Regions from separate parts of the Homo sapiens genome. Here all the other regions are linked to region 3. Evidence: promoter capture Hi-C in 16 types of primary human blood cells and fetal thymus (Javierre and others, 2016). All regions are on one chromosome and are shown on one strand. The core of a region is centred on a gene start or on the middle of the fragment in contact, and the rest is flanking DNA. Distances in the headings are between cores, read along the strand shown.

The links. Contacts are between HindIII fragments. The CHiCAGO score rates a contact against its expected background, and 5 or more counts as called.
Region 1: the fragment with the promoter of OR10H1 here is called in contact with the fragment with the promoter of LINC00661 in region 3 in 5 of 17 cell types (naive CD8 T cells, erythroblasts, total CD8 T cells and 2 more); the score reaches 7.8 in naive CD8 T cells.
Region 2: a contact is called between the fragment with the promoter of OR10H5 here and the fragment with the promoter of LINC00661 in region 3, in 7 of 17 cell types (erythroblasts, naive CD8 T cells, non-activated CD4 T cells and 4 more). The highest score is 10.6, in erythroblasts.

Annotation. Positions count from the first base shown.
Region 1 is chr19:15,814,120-15,817,630 of GRCh38, forward strand. OR10H1 (olfactory receptor family 10 subfamily H member 1) reads right to left here and starts at 1,545. Exons shown (of 4, transcript NM_013940.4): 1 at 1,436-1,545. The HindIII fragment of the contact is 16,264 bases long and covers 1-3,511 here.
Region 2 is chr19:15,785,711-15,789,567 of GRCh38, forward strand. OR10H5 (olfactory receptor family 10 subfamily H member 5) reads left to right here and starts at 1,951. Exons shown (of 2, transcript NM_001004466.2): 1 at 1,951-2,006. The HindIII fragment of the contact is 16,043 bases long and covers 1-3,857 here.
Region 3 is chr19:16,014,103-16,018,031 of GRCh38, forward strand. It overlaps LINC00661 (long intergenic non-protein coding RNA 661), which reads left to right and starts at 1,532. Exons shown (of 9, transcript NR_026828.1): 1 at 1,532-1,687. LOC105372291 (a long non-coding RNA gene) reads right to left here and starts at 954. Exons shown (of 2, transcript XR_936355.1): 1 at 869-954; 2 at 34-283. The HindIII fragment of the contact is 12,039 bases long and covers 1-3,929 here.

The DNA.
Region 1 (3,511 bases), core at 295-2,794, 200 kb before region 3:
TGCACTGCAGGAGACTGAGCAGCATTCTTGGTCTCCACCCACCAGATAGATACCAGCAGCACTCCCCAGTCACGACAATCAGAAATGTCCTTATACGTTGTCACGTGTCTCCTGGGTGACAGCATCACTCCATGGGCCAGGCCTGTCTTGTCTCTGAGACCCCATCTGGCCTTAACTCTCACCCATCCTGGCTCTCTCTTCTTAGTGAAGCTGTCTGGCCTCCCCTCTCTTCCACTTAAGCCACCACTTCCCTCTCTTTTCTCTCCATCTTCTCATCCCCAGCTCCTAACCATTCCCTCACCACCTGCTCCCATTGACGCCTCCCTTGTGTGTGTGTGTGTGTGTGTGTGTGTGTGTGTGTGAGAGAGAGAGAGAGAGAGAGAGAGAGAGAGAGAGAGAGAGAGAGAGAGAGAGACAGGGTATCCCTCTGTCACCCAGGCTGGAGTGCAGAGGCACAATCACAGCTCACTGCAGCCTTAACTTCCTGGGCTCAAGCAATCCTCCCACCTCAATCTCTGGAGTAGCTACAGGTGCCTGCCATTCCTGGCCAATTTTTGTATTTTTTTGTACAGACAGGGTCTCACTATGCTGCCCAGGCTGGCCTCAAACTCTTGGACTCAAGTGATCCTCCCACCTTGGCCTCCCAAAGTGCTGGGATTGCAGGCATGAGCCACTGCACCCGGCCCACCCTGATTCTTTACACCCTGGGGTGGTGGCTGGAGCTTCTGAACCCTGAATCCTCTTTCTCTCTTTTCTCCGCCTCTTCCCAATCCTTTTTCCGTAGACTTCTTGCCTGGACAGACCGAGAAGAGAGGTTAAAATCAAACCATCACCTTGGGTCACATTGAGCATTGGCTGTCTTCTCTCTGCACCTGTTACCTCCCCCATCCAAGGGACCTACCTCATGAGGCAGCAGGAGCTCTAAAGAAGGCAAGTCCTGGCTGGGCACGATGGCTCATGCCTGTAATCCCAGTACTTTGGGAAGCCGAGGCGGGTGGATCACGAGATCAGGAGTTCAAGACCAGCCTGTCCAGCATGGTGAAACCCCTGTCTCTACTAAAAATACAAAAAATTAGCCAGGCATGGTGGCACGCACCTGTAGTCCCAGCTACTCAGGAGGCTGAGGGAGAAGAATCGCTTGAACCTGGCAGGCGGAGGTTGCAGTGAGCCGAGATTGCGCCACTGCACTCCAGCCTGGGCTACAGAGCGAGATTCCGTCTCAAAAAAAAAAAAAAAAAAATAGAAGAAGGTAAGTCCTGCTAAGCAAACAGCACACTGACTAAGACGTGGTGAGTGGCCTCTGCCTGTCACCCACTGCCCTGTAGACTCACATTGCTAAAGGAGTAATATAAACAGGTGGTTTCTTGGAGTCCCTGGCAGGTGCTGGTTCCCCAGGTCTCTCCTGGTCAGGTGGCTGAGAGGGGAGGTGACTCACCTGGGACTCCAGGCATCTGCTTCTGCTTCATCCCAGTAGGAGGCTCTAGTTTGGAGTTTCTCCACAGGTGGGAGCTGACCAGGTGTGGGCTGCACCAAGCAGCCACACCAGCTGAGCCGGGGGCTTGACTGAGCCCAAATGCGATTATTTATCCCTCCCTGACTCCCTGCCCACCGGCTTCCCTCGCTGTGGTCCTACTGTCTCTGTCTCCGCTACAGGGATGCTGGGACCCCAGGGACCCTGCCAGAGAGGAGGCAACCTCAGGGAATCTGTATCCTCACTTTCCCATTCCCCCCGCCTGCCAGGGGTGAGTCAATTCCCTGAGCTTGTCAAGAGCTTGAGCAGAGTCTAGTGCTCTACAGATTTGGGGTTTGGGCCCATGACTGTTGAAATTGACAGGAGGGCAGCCCTGCCATTGCCCCCAGGGACTGCAGAGGCTGCCTTGATATGCCCCGTCACCTTCATTCTTCTCCAACTGGGTCATTTGCCCAACTAAATGTCCTTTAAAATAATTTTTTAAAACCAACACACACACACGTATTTGTTTTTATTTTTATTTTTTGAGACAGGGTCTAGCTCTGTTGCCCAGGCTGGAGTGCAGTGGTGTGATTATGGCTCACTGCAGCCTCAACCTCCCAGGCTCAAATGATTCTCCTGCCTCAGCCTCCTGAGCAGCTGGGAGTAAAGGTGCTTGCCACCACACCTGGGCTAAGTTTTAATTTTTCTGTAGAGATGGGGTCTCGCTTTGTTGCCCAGGCTGGTCTTGAGCTCCTTGGCTCAAGGGATCCTCCCACCTTGACCTCTCAAAGTGCTGGGATTACAGCTGTGAGCCACCATGCCTGGCCTGTTTCTTCTTATTATGTAATTGAAATGCTACATACAAAGCAGCAAACCATGCAATGGCCAGCCAGGCAATCGTGACGGTGAATTTAATGGGTATCCCTTCAGATCTTCATGAGCATGTAGGATGTGAAAACAATGCAAACCCATAAAATCAGAGTTCTGTTGTGCATTATTGTTGCTTTCGCTTCGTTCTGCTTTTGAGGTGAAATTCACATAAAATAATCAACCACTTTAAAGTATACAATTCCCTGGGATTGAATGCATTCACAATGTTGTGTGGCCGCCGCCTCTGTCTAGTTCCAAAATGTTTTCATCACCTAATACCCATTAGCAGCCACTCCCCTACCCCACCCAGTCCTTCAAAACCACCAATTTGTTTTCTGGCTCTGGCTCTATGGACTTACCTATTCTAGACATTTCATATAAATGGGACTATATACTACTATATATAACGATGCATTATGATTGCCCCTGTGAGTAGCCACGGCACTCCAGCCATTTTGTCAACACAAAAATGTCGACATTGCCAAGACTGAGAAACTTTGGTCTGCATAAACTCACACAGAGTTCACTCTAAGACGCTGAGTGAAAAACCAAGTTACGGAAAGATATCTACGGGAGAATCAGATCTGCATTTTAAAAACACACAAAATGGTTTGACAGTTTATCAAAAAGTTAACATAGAAATTATCAAAGGACTCAGCAATTTCACTCCTAGGTATACACCCAAAAGAATGGAAAAGGATTCAAACAAATCCTTGGACATCAAATGTGCATAGCAGCACTGTTCACAGTAGCCAAACGGTATTTTTTAATTTTTCTGTAGAGAGTAGGATTTCACTTTGTTTCTCAGGCTGCTCTTGGAACTCCTGGGCTTAAGCGATTCTCCTGCCTTGACCTCCCAAAGTGCTTGGATTGCAGGTGTGAGCCACTGGACATGGCCTGATCCAAACGTCTATCAATGGCAGATCCAAATGTCTATTAATAAATAAATGGATAAACAAAGTGTGGTATAATCATATAATGGCTATTATTCAGCCACAGAAAGGAATAACATCCCAGTCCAGGCCACAGTAGAGATGAACGTTGAAAACATGTGCTATGTGAAAGGAGCTAGGCTTTTAATTTTATGGATAATTCCATACAAATGATATCTCTTTGATACACTGATTTCTTTTCTTTGGAGTATATACTTAAGTAGTGGCATTTCTGGATCATATGATAGCTCTATGT
Region 2 (3,857 bases), core at 701-3,200, 230 kb before region 3:
TTCTTTTGAGAAGTGTCTGTTCATATCCTTCACCCACTTTTTGATGGGGTTGTTTGTTTTTTCTTGTAAATATGTTGGAGTTCATTGTAGATTCTGAGCTTTGTTCTTTTGGCTTAGGATTGACTTGGCAATGTGGGCTCTTTTTTGGTTCCATATGAACTTTAAAGTAGTTTTTTCCAATTCTGTGAAGAAAGTCATTGGTAGCTTGATGGGGATGGCATTGAATCTATAAATTACCTTGGGCAGTATGGCCATTTTCACAATATTGATTCTTCCTACCCATGAGCATGGAATGTTCTTCCATTTGTTTGTATCCTCTTTTATTTCATCGAGCAGTGGTTTGTAGTTCTCCTTGAAGAGGTCCTTCTATCTGATCTTTGACAACATGACAAAAACAAGAAATGGGGAAAGGATTCCCTATTTAATAAATGGTGCTGGGAAAACTGGCTAGCCATATGTAGAAAGCTGAAACTGGATCCCTTCCTTACACCTTACACAAAAATTAATTCAAGATGGACTAAAGACTTAAATGTTAGACCTAAAACCATAAAAACCCTAGAAGAAAACCTAGGCAATACCTTTCAGTACATAGGCATGGGCAAGGACTTCATGTCTAAAACACCAAAAGCAACGGCAACAAAAGCCAAAATTGACAAATGGGATATAATTAAACTAAAGAGCTTCTGCACAGCAAAAGAAACTACCATCAGAGTGAACAGTCAACCTACAGAATGGGAGAAAATTTTTGCAATCTACTCATCTGACAAAGGGCTAATATCCAGAATCTACATCTGACTAATTTTTGTATTTTGAGTAGAGATGGGGTTTCGCCATGTTGGCCAGGCTGGTCTTGAGCTCCTGAACTCAAGTGATCCACCTGCCTCAGCCTCCCAGAGTGCTGGGATTACAGGCATGAGCCACCGCGCCCGGCCCCCAACTCACTAATTCTCTCTTCAATTGTGTCTGACATGCATTAAACTTCTCCTGGGATATTAATATTGTAGCTTTGGTTCTAAAAATTATATATCTTTTTTTTCAAATCAACCCTGCCGCTCTTTACAATGCTTTATCCTTGAAGATATTTCCAAAATTACATTTCGTTATTTAAACTTCGTAAGCAATATTGTTTCATAGTCCTTGCCTGATAATTCCAGTATCTGAAATCTTTGTTGGACTGTTTCTGGAGTTATGGGGAACTGGGAGATTCTGAAGGTGTTGATACCTGGGTCATGATGCACCCTGTCAAGTTTATGGGGAGGAAGAGGCAGAGCTGGAGCTCTTGGCCCCTCCACTCCATCTGGGCTTGCTGCAGGAACCTACCGTGTGACCTTGGCCTTGTTCCCTGCCCTCTGTGGGCTTTGTGTTCCCAGAGGCAACCATAGAGGATGCTTCTTCTGAGAATCACACCTCTGTGTCTCTCCAGATCCCTTTCCTGATATCTGTTGAGAAGAGACACCATCCTGGGAAACATCACCCAGAATCCAGTCCCATTTTTCCAAAATGCTTGGAATTGGGGCAGCCCAGCCCAGCCTCGCTAGCCGCAGGGGGTGGTGGTGGTGGTGGTGTCAGGGTTTGATGGTGGTGTCAGGGTTTGATGGTGAGATCTTTAGGGAGGAGGTGATGTAAAAACTGAAACCTCAAATGAGAACAGGACTGAGATAAGTGAGAGTGAGTAGTGGTGGAAGGGGTCCCAGGCAGGAGGAAGGGAGGAAAGATGGAAGAAGGGAAGAAGAGAGGAAGGAAGGAAGAGAAGGAAGAAAAGAGGGAGGGAAGCAGCAAAGGAAGGAGGGAGGCAGGAATGGAGAGGGCAATCCCAAGGTCCCCCGCCTCCCTCCTTGGACTTCGATTACCCTGCATCCTGCATCCCAGGCAGGCTCCTCAAGACACCTCTGGGAACGTGCCACTGGGGAAGACGCCTGCAGAGATGAAGCTCTCACCCTGGGTGCACTGTGCCCAGGGCCATTACAGGCCTGGCTGCAAGGCGTCCCTAAAGGTCTCTGATGAAGGTAAGTGGAGTCGTCTATTTCCAAACCTGCTTTCCAGGATGAAGTGGCAAGAGTACTGGGAGGTGGAAGGGAGAAGGCAAGAGAAGCAGGGAAAATTGGAACAGAGGGAGGCACAGGTTTGGGAAAAGAAACGAGAGGGAGCATGGGATGATATGGAGTAGGGGTTCTATAGCCTCAGCCACCTGACTCCAGGCTGGATCAGCCTGTCCTCACTCCAAGTCCCCCATAGAGTCCACCTACTGCCTAGAGCAGCCCCCTTTCCACAGCAGTCGTGGCCACCAGGGTCCATGCTGGGGTGGGGAGTGGTCTCTATACTAAGTTGTGGAGGAGGGTGGTTCTGAGCCAAGCGGGTGACATTGAGTGTGTCACCATGCATGTGGGTGTACTTAGGCATCACCCATGTGTACTCCTGCCTTCACTGTGTGTGTGTGTGTGCAGTTGTGTGCGCTTGTATGAGATTATTGTAGCTGCCATTTCAAAGTGCCGCAAACCTTGTGGCTTAAAACAAGATAAATGCATTCTTGCAGGGTTCTGGAGGCTAGACGTCTTAAAGCAAGACGTCTACAAAGCTACTCTCCCTCTGAAGATTCTAAGGGAGAAGATGCCTTGCCTCTTCCAGCTTCTGGGTGCTCTAGGCATTGATTGATTTGTAGCTGCATCGCTCCAATCTCTGCCTCTCTCTTCACGCGACCTTTTCCTCTGTGTGTCCTCCCCTCGTCTTTGAGGGGCACCAGTTGTTGGATTTAGTAAACAACCTAATTCAGAATAATCTCATTTTTATTTTTATTATTATTATTTTTTGGACAGGGTCTCGCTCTGTCACCCAGGCTGGAGTGCAGTGGCACGATCACAGCTCACTGCAGCCTCGACCTCCCAGGCTCAACTGATCCTCCCACTTGGCCTCCTAAGCAGCTGTTAGCGCAGGCACACAGCACCACGCCCAGCTAATTTTTGTAGAGATGGGGTTTTGCCATGTTGCTCAGGCTGGTCTCGAACTCCTGGATTCAAGCAATCCCCCGCCCCACCCACCTTGGTCTCCCACAGTGCTGGGATTATAGGTGTGAGCCACCACACCCAGCTGATCTCATTTTTGGATCCTTACCTTAATGACATCTGTAAAAGACTCTATTGCCACCTAAGGTCACATTATTTTATTTTAGTTTAGTTTAGTTTGGTTTCAGGGTACATGCTCAGGATGTGCAGGTTTGTCACACAGGCAAATGTGTGCCATGGTGCTTTGCTGCACCTATCAACCTATCACCTAGGTATTAAGCCTGGCATACATTAGCTATTTTTCTGAGGCTCTCCCCACCCCTGCCCTACCCCAACAGGCCCCAGTGTGTGTTGTTCCCCTCCCTGTGTCCAAAGGTCACATTCTGAGGTTCTGAATGAACATGAGTTTTGGAGGGACATGATTCAACACACACAGTGCCCTCACACATGGAATGGCTGTGTGTCTCCAGTTTATTCCAGCCCCAGATGAGCACCAGGCATTTGGCAAGGGCTCCATAGGTGTGTGCAGAATGAGTGGTGGTGTCTCTGGTTCTGGCTGGGGGTGTCACCGCCAGTGTGCATTTCAGAGCCAGTGCGACTGTGTGGCATTGCTCAGATCTGTCTGCCTTTGCATCTGTGTGTTCAGTTGTATGATAAAGTGCATAAGCAGAAAGAGCTGGATGAGTTGAATTGTGTCTCCTTTGAGGAGAGAGGGCACTGGAGCAGGGTCTGGGAGCCTGCGTGTGTGCCAGCCTGGGATTCTGCATTTGCACCAGCCTGGGATTCTGTGTGTGCACCAGCCTAGGGTTCTGCGTGTGCATCATTCTGGAGTTCTGTGTGTGCAGAAGCCTGAGGTTC
Region 3 (3,929 bases), core at 282-2,781:
GAGCGTAAGAAATAAAGACACAAGACCAAGAGATAAAGAGAAAACAGCTGGGCCCGAGGGACCACTACCATCAAGACGCGGAGACCAGTAGTGGCCCTGAATGGCTGGGCACACTGATATTTATTGCATACAAGACAAGGGGCGTAGGGTCAGGAGGGTGAATCTTCTAAGTGATTGACAAGGTGAAGCAAGTCACGTGATCACAGCACAGGGGGCCCTTCCCTCTTAGGTAGCCGAAGCAGAGAGAGAGAAGGCAGCATACGTCAGCGTTTTCTTCTATGCACTTACAAGAAAGATCAAAGACTGTAAGACTTTCACTATTCCTTCTACCGCTATCTACTACAAATTTCAAAGAGGAACCAGGAGTACGGGAGGAACATGAAAGTGACCATTGGAGCACAGCACCACAAGGAGGGGTTTAGGCCTCCGGATGACTGCGGCAGGCCTAGATAATATCCAGCCTTCCACAAGAAGCTGGTGGAGCAGTGTTCCCTGACTCCTCCAAGGAAAGGAGACTCCCTTTCGCAGTCTGCTAAGTAACGGGCGCCTTCCCAGACACTGGCGTTACCGCTTGACCAAGGAGCCCTCAAGCTGCCCTTATGCACGCGTTGACAGAGGGCTCACCTCTTGCCTTCTAGGTCACTTCTAACAATGTCCCTTCAGCACCTGACCCTCTACCCGCCAGTTATTCCTAGGTTATGTTAGTAACGCAACAAAGAGTAATATTAAAAGCTAATGATTAATAATGTTTATAATAATGATTGATAATTGTCCATGATCATCTCTATATCTAATTTGTATTATGACTATTCTTATTCTAACTATTTTCTTTATTATACTGAAACAGTTTGTGTCTTCAGTCTCTCACCTCGGCACCTGGGTAATCCTCCGCCCACAGTCAATAGGGGTCTGCAGCTGGGGCAAGGTCAGCGGGGATCTGATCAGTGAGACCTAGTCAGGTCTCACTGACTGACTAGGCCCTGGGGGTTGGGGCCTGGCCAGCAAGAGTCCAGTAGTTGGGGCGTGTTTGGCGAGGGTCTCATGGTTGGGGTCTGGCCAGCGGGGGTCCCACAGTTGGGGCCTGGTGAGCAGAGATCTGGCAGTTGCAGCCTCGTCCATGGGGGTCTGGCAGTTGGGGCCTGGTCAGCGGGGTCTTATAGTTGGGGCCTGTTTGGAGGGGGTCCAGCAGTTGGGGCCTGGTCAGAGGGGATACGGCAGCTGGGGGTTATTTGGCAGGGATGCAGCAGCTGGGACCTGGTAGGTGGGGTCTGGCGGTTGGGGCCTGGTCAGTGAGGATCAGATCAGTGCGGTCTAGGCAGTGAGGTCTGGACGCTGGGCCTTCATCTGCATGGGTCTCGCAGTTGGGACCTGGTCAGCAGGGGTCTACCAGTTGGGGCCTGGTTGGCGGAATCAGGCAGTTGGGACCTGGTTGTCGGGGGTCCAACAGTTGGGGCCTGGTCAAAGGGGATCCAGCAGTTGGAACCTGGTCAGCAGGGCTCTGGCAGTTGGGGCCTGGTCATTGGGGTCTGGCAGTTGGGGCCTGGTCAACAGGGGTCCAGGAGCTGAGGCCTGGTTGGTGGGCCGTCTAGCAGTTGAGGCCTGGTCATCTGGGCCCGGCATTTGGGGCCTGATCGGCGGGGATCAGAGCAGTGAGGCCTAGTCAGTGAGGTGTGGATGTGGGGGCCTGGTAAGCAGGGGCCCAGCAGTTGGGGTCTGGTCAGCAGGGGTCTCATAAGAAGAGGCCTGGTTGGCAAGGGTCTGGCAGTTGGGGCTCAGTCAGGAGGGGTCTAGGAGTTGGGGCCCAGTCAGTGGGGTCTGGCAGTTTGGGCTTGATCAGTGCAGTCCAGCAGTTGTTGGGGCCTGGTCAGTGGGGGTCCAGTAGCTGGGACATGGTCAGTGGAGTCCAGCGTCCGGGGCCTGGTTGGCAGGGGTCTGACAGTTGGCGCCTGGTTGGTGGGGATCCCATAGTTGGGGCCTGTCAGCAGGGATCCAGCATTTGGGGCCCAGTCAGTGGGGTTCAGCTTTTGGGGCCTGGTGAGTGGGGTTCAGCATTTGGGGCCTGGCCAGCAGGGGTCCAGCAGTTGTTAGGGCCTGGTCAGCGGGGGTCTGATTAGTGAGATCTATTTGGTGGGGTCCATCAGTTGGGACCTAGTCAGTGAGGGCCGTGAGGGCCTTGTCAGTTGCAGCCTTGTTATTGTGGCCTTTGTCAGTGGTGTCTGATGAGCCAGGGCCTGGTCTGTGGGGCCCAGTCAGCAGGACCTGGTCAGTCCACATCTGGTCAGTGGGACCTGGTCATTGTGGGGGTGGTCAGCTAGGACCTGTTCAGTGGGAGCTTAACCATTGGAAGCCTGGCCAGTGGGATCCTGGGTGATCTCAGGCCACGGGTTAGTCCTCGAAGCCTCCGTGATTGCCTCCATCCATGGGGTGGGGGGTGAGTCACAGCACCCCAGTGGGCTTCTGGGAGGAGGAGGTGAGAGGGTGCATTGCATTGAATCCAGCCCTGCCACACAGACCTGGCACTTTACACACTACGCGAGTCACCCCAAGGGGGAAGCCTGGCTTCTGCCCTCTGCCCTCTGCCCTCTGCCCTTTGCCCTATGTCCCTGCCCCATCTGCATCCCCAGGACCACCCAGCATGGAAAGAGCAGAGGCTGAGGAGCACCTATGGGTGCTCTGATGCTGGCCACAGGCCCGGGGGTGACAGTGACAGGGATCCAGGTGCACACCTGAGTGGAGCAGCCAGGCCCAGCTGGAGGAGAGACGTGTTCACCCACACACATGCATCCTCACATACACAGACAAATTGCACGCATACATGTTGACCATTAAGCGGGCAGAGGACGCTGACCCTGGGCCCTGCTGAGCCAGGTAGGGCCCCGTCATGACAGAGGCTGTGAACCCATGCTGTCACTGTGCCAAGTGCCGCCAGCCTACCTCCGTGTCATGGAGCAGTTGGAGACACAGAGGTGCTGTAAGTGGTTGTGCAGAAAGGACCCTTTTCTGGGTGAGAAGCACATCTCAGCACCGCTGCCTGATCAGACTCAGGAAAGCGTGACCTGCTCTCTTCCCCCCTGCTGACTTGGGGACAGTCACAACCAGGTGGGTGGCAGCTACCCGAGGAGGGTCATCCATGAGCACTCACCGGGTGCCCGTTCTATGCTGACCATGCAAACAGTCGTCTCCTTCATCCTCACGGCGACTCCATGGCGGGGTGGAGGGGTGCTTTCCTCAAATGTACCCACTGAATAGGTGAGACGCCTGAGGTCAGAGGGGCAGTAACTGGCCCAGAGACCCAGACGTGGCCCTGGGCCATGCTCTCAGCCCTGGCCTGTGCCATGCTGAACTCAAGCCTTGACCTCTGTGACCTCCGTGTTCTGGATTGCACATCTGCCTGGGGTTTCTGACCCCAGTGGAGCTGAGCCTCGCCCTAGAAGAGCCCCCAGGATGGAGCCCCTGTGGGTGGGGTGGAGGGTGGTCCTCCGTCCAAGTCTGTGCTCTAAGATGGGTCCCCACAGGGGGAGATCTCATCAACCCAGACTTCGGGTGCAGTCAGTGGGGGTTGCTGTGGAACCCACTGGACATACTGGGTCCCTCGTCTGGGAGTGGGGTGGGGAGCCCTCTATCCTTGGGCAGTTGTGGAAAATGACGGAGGTCCAGAGGGCTGGCCAGAAGGTAATGATCATTCCTCCTTTTCGCCAGGTCTGGGGCTTTTCCCCACGTGGCCCTTTCTCTGCCTGGTCCCCTAGAGGCCTCGCCCTTTCTTTGCCCTGACTGTTCATGGGAGGGGTCCCTCTGGGGTTCTCCAGAACCAAGTCCCCAGAGTTCTCTCATTCTTTCTTGGTGATCCGGAAACACGAGGCCCCTTCCTGTATTGACAGCTCAGAACTGTGGGATCCACCATCCCGCCACCTGAGACATCTCCGTGAGCA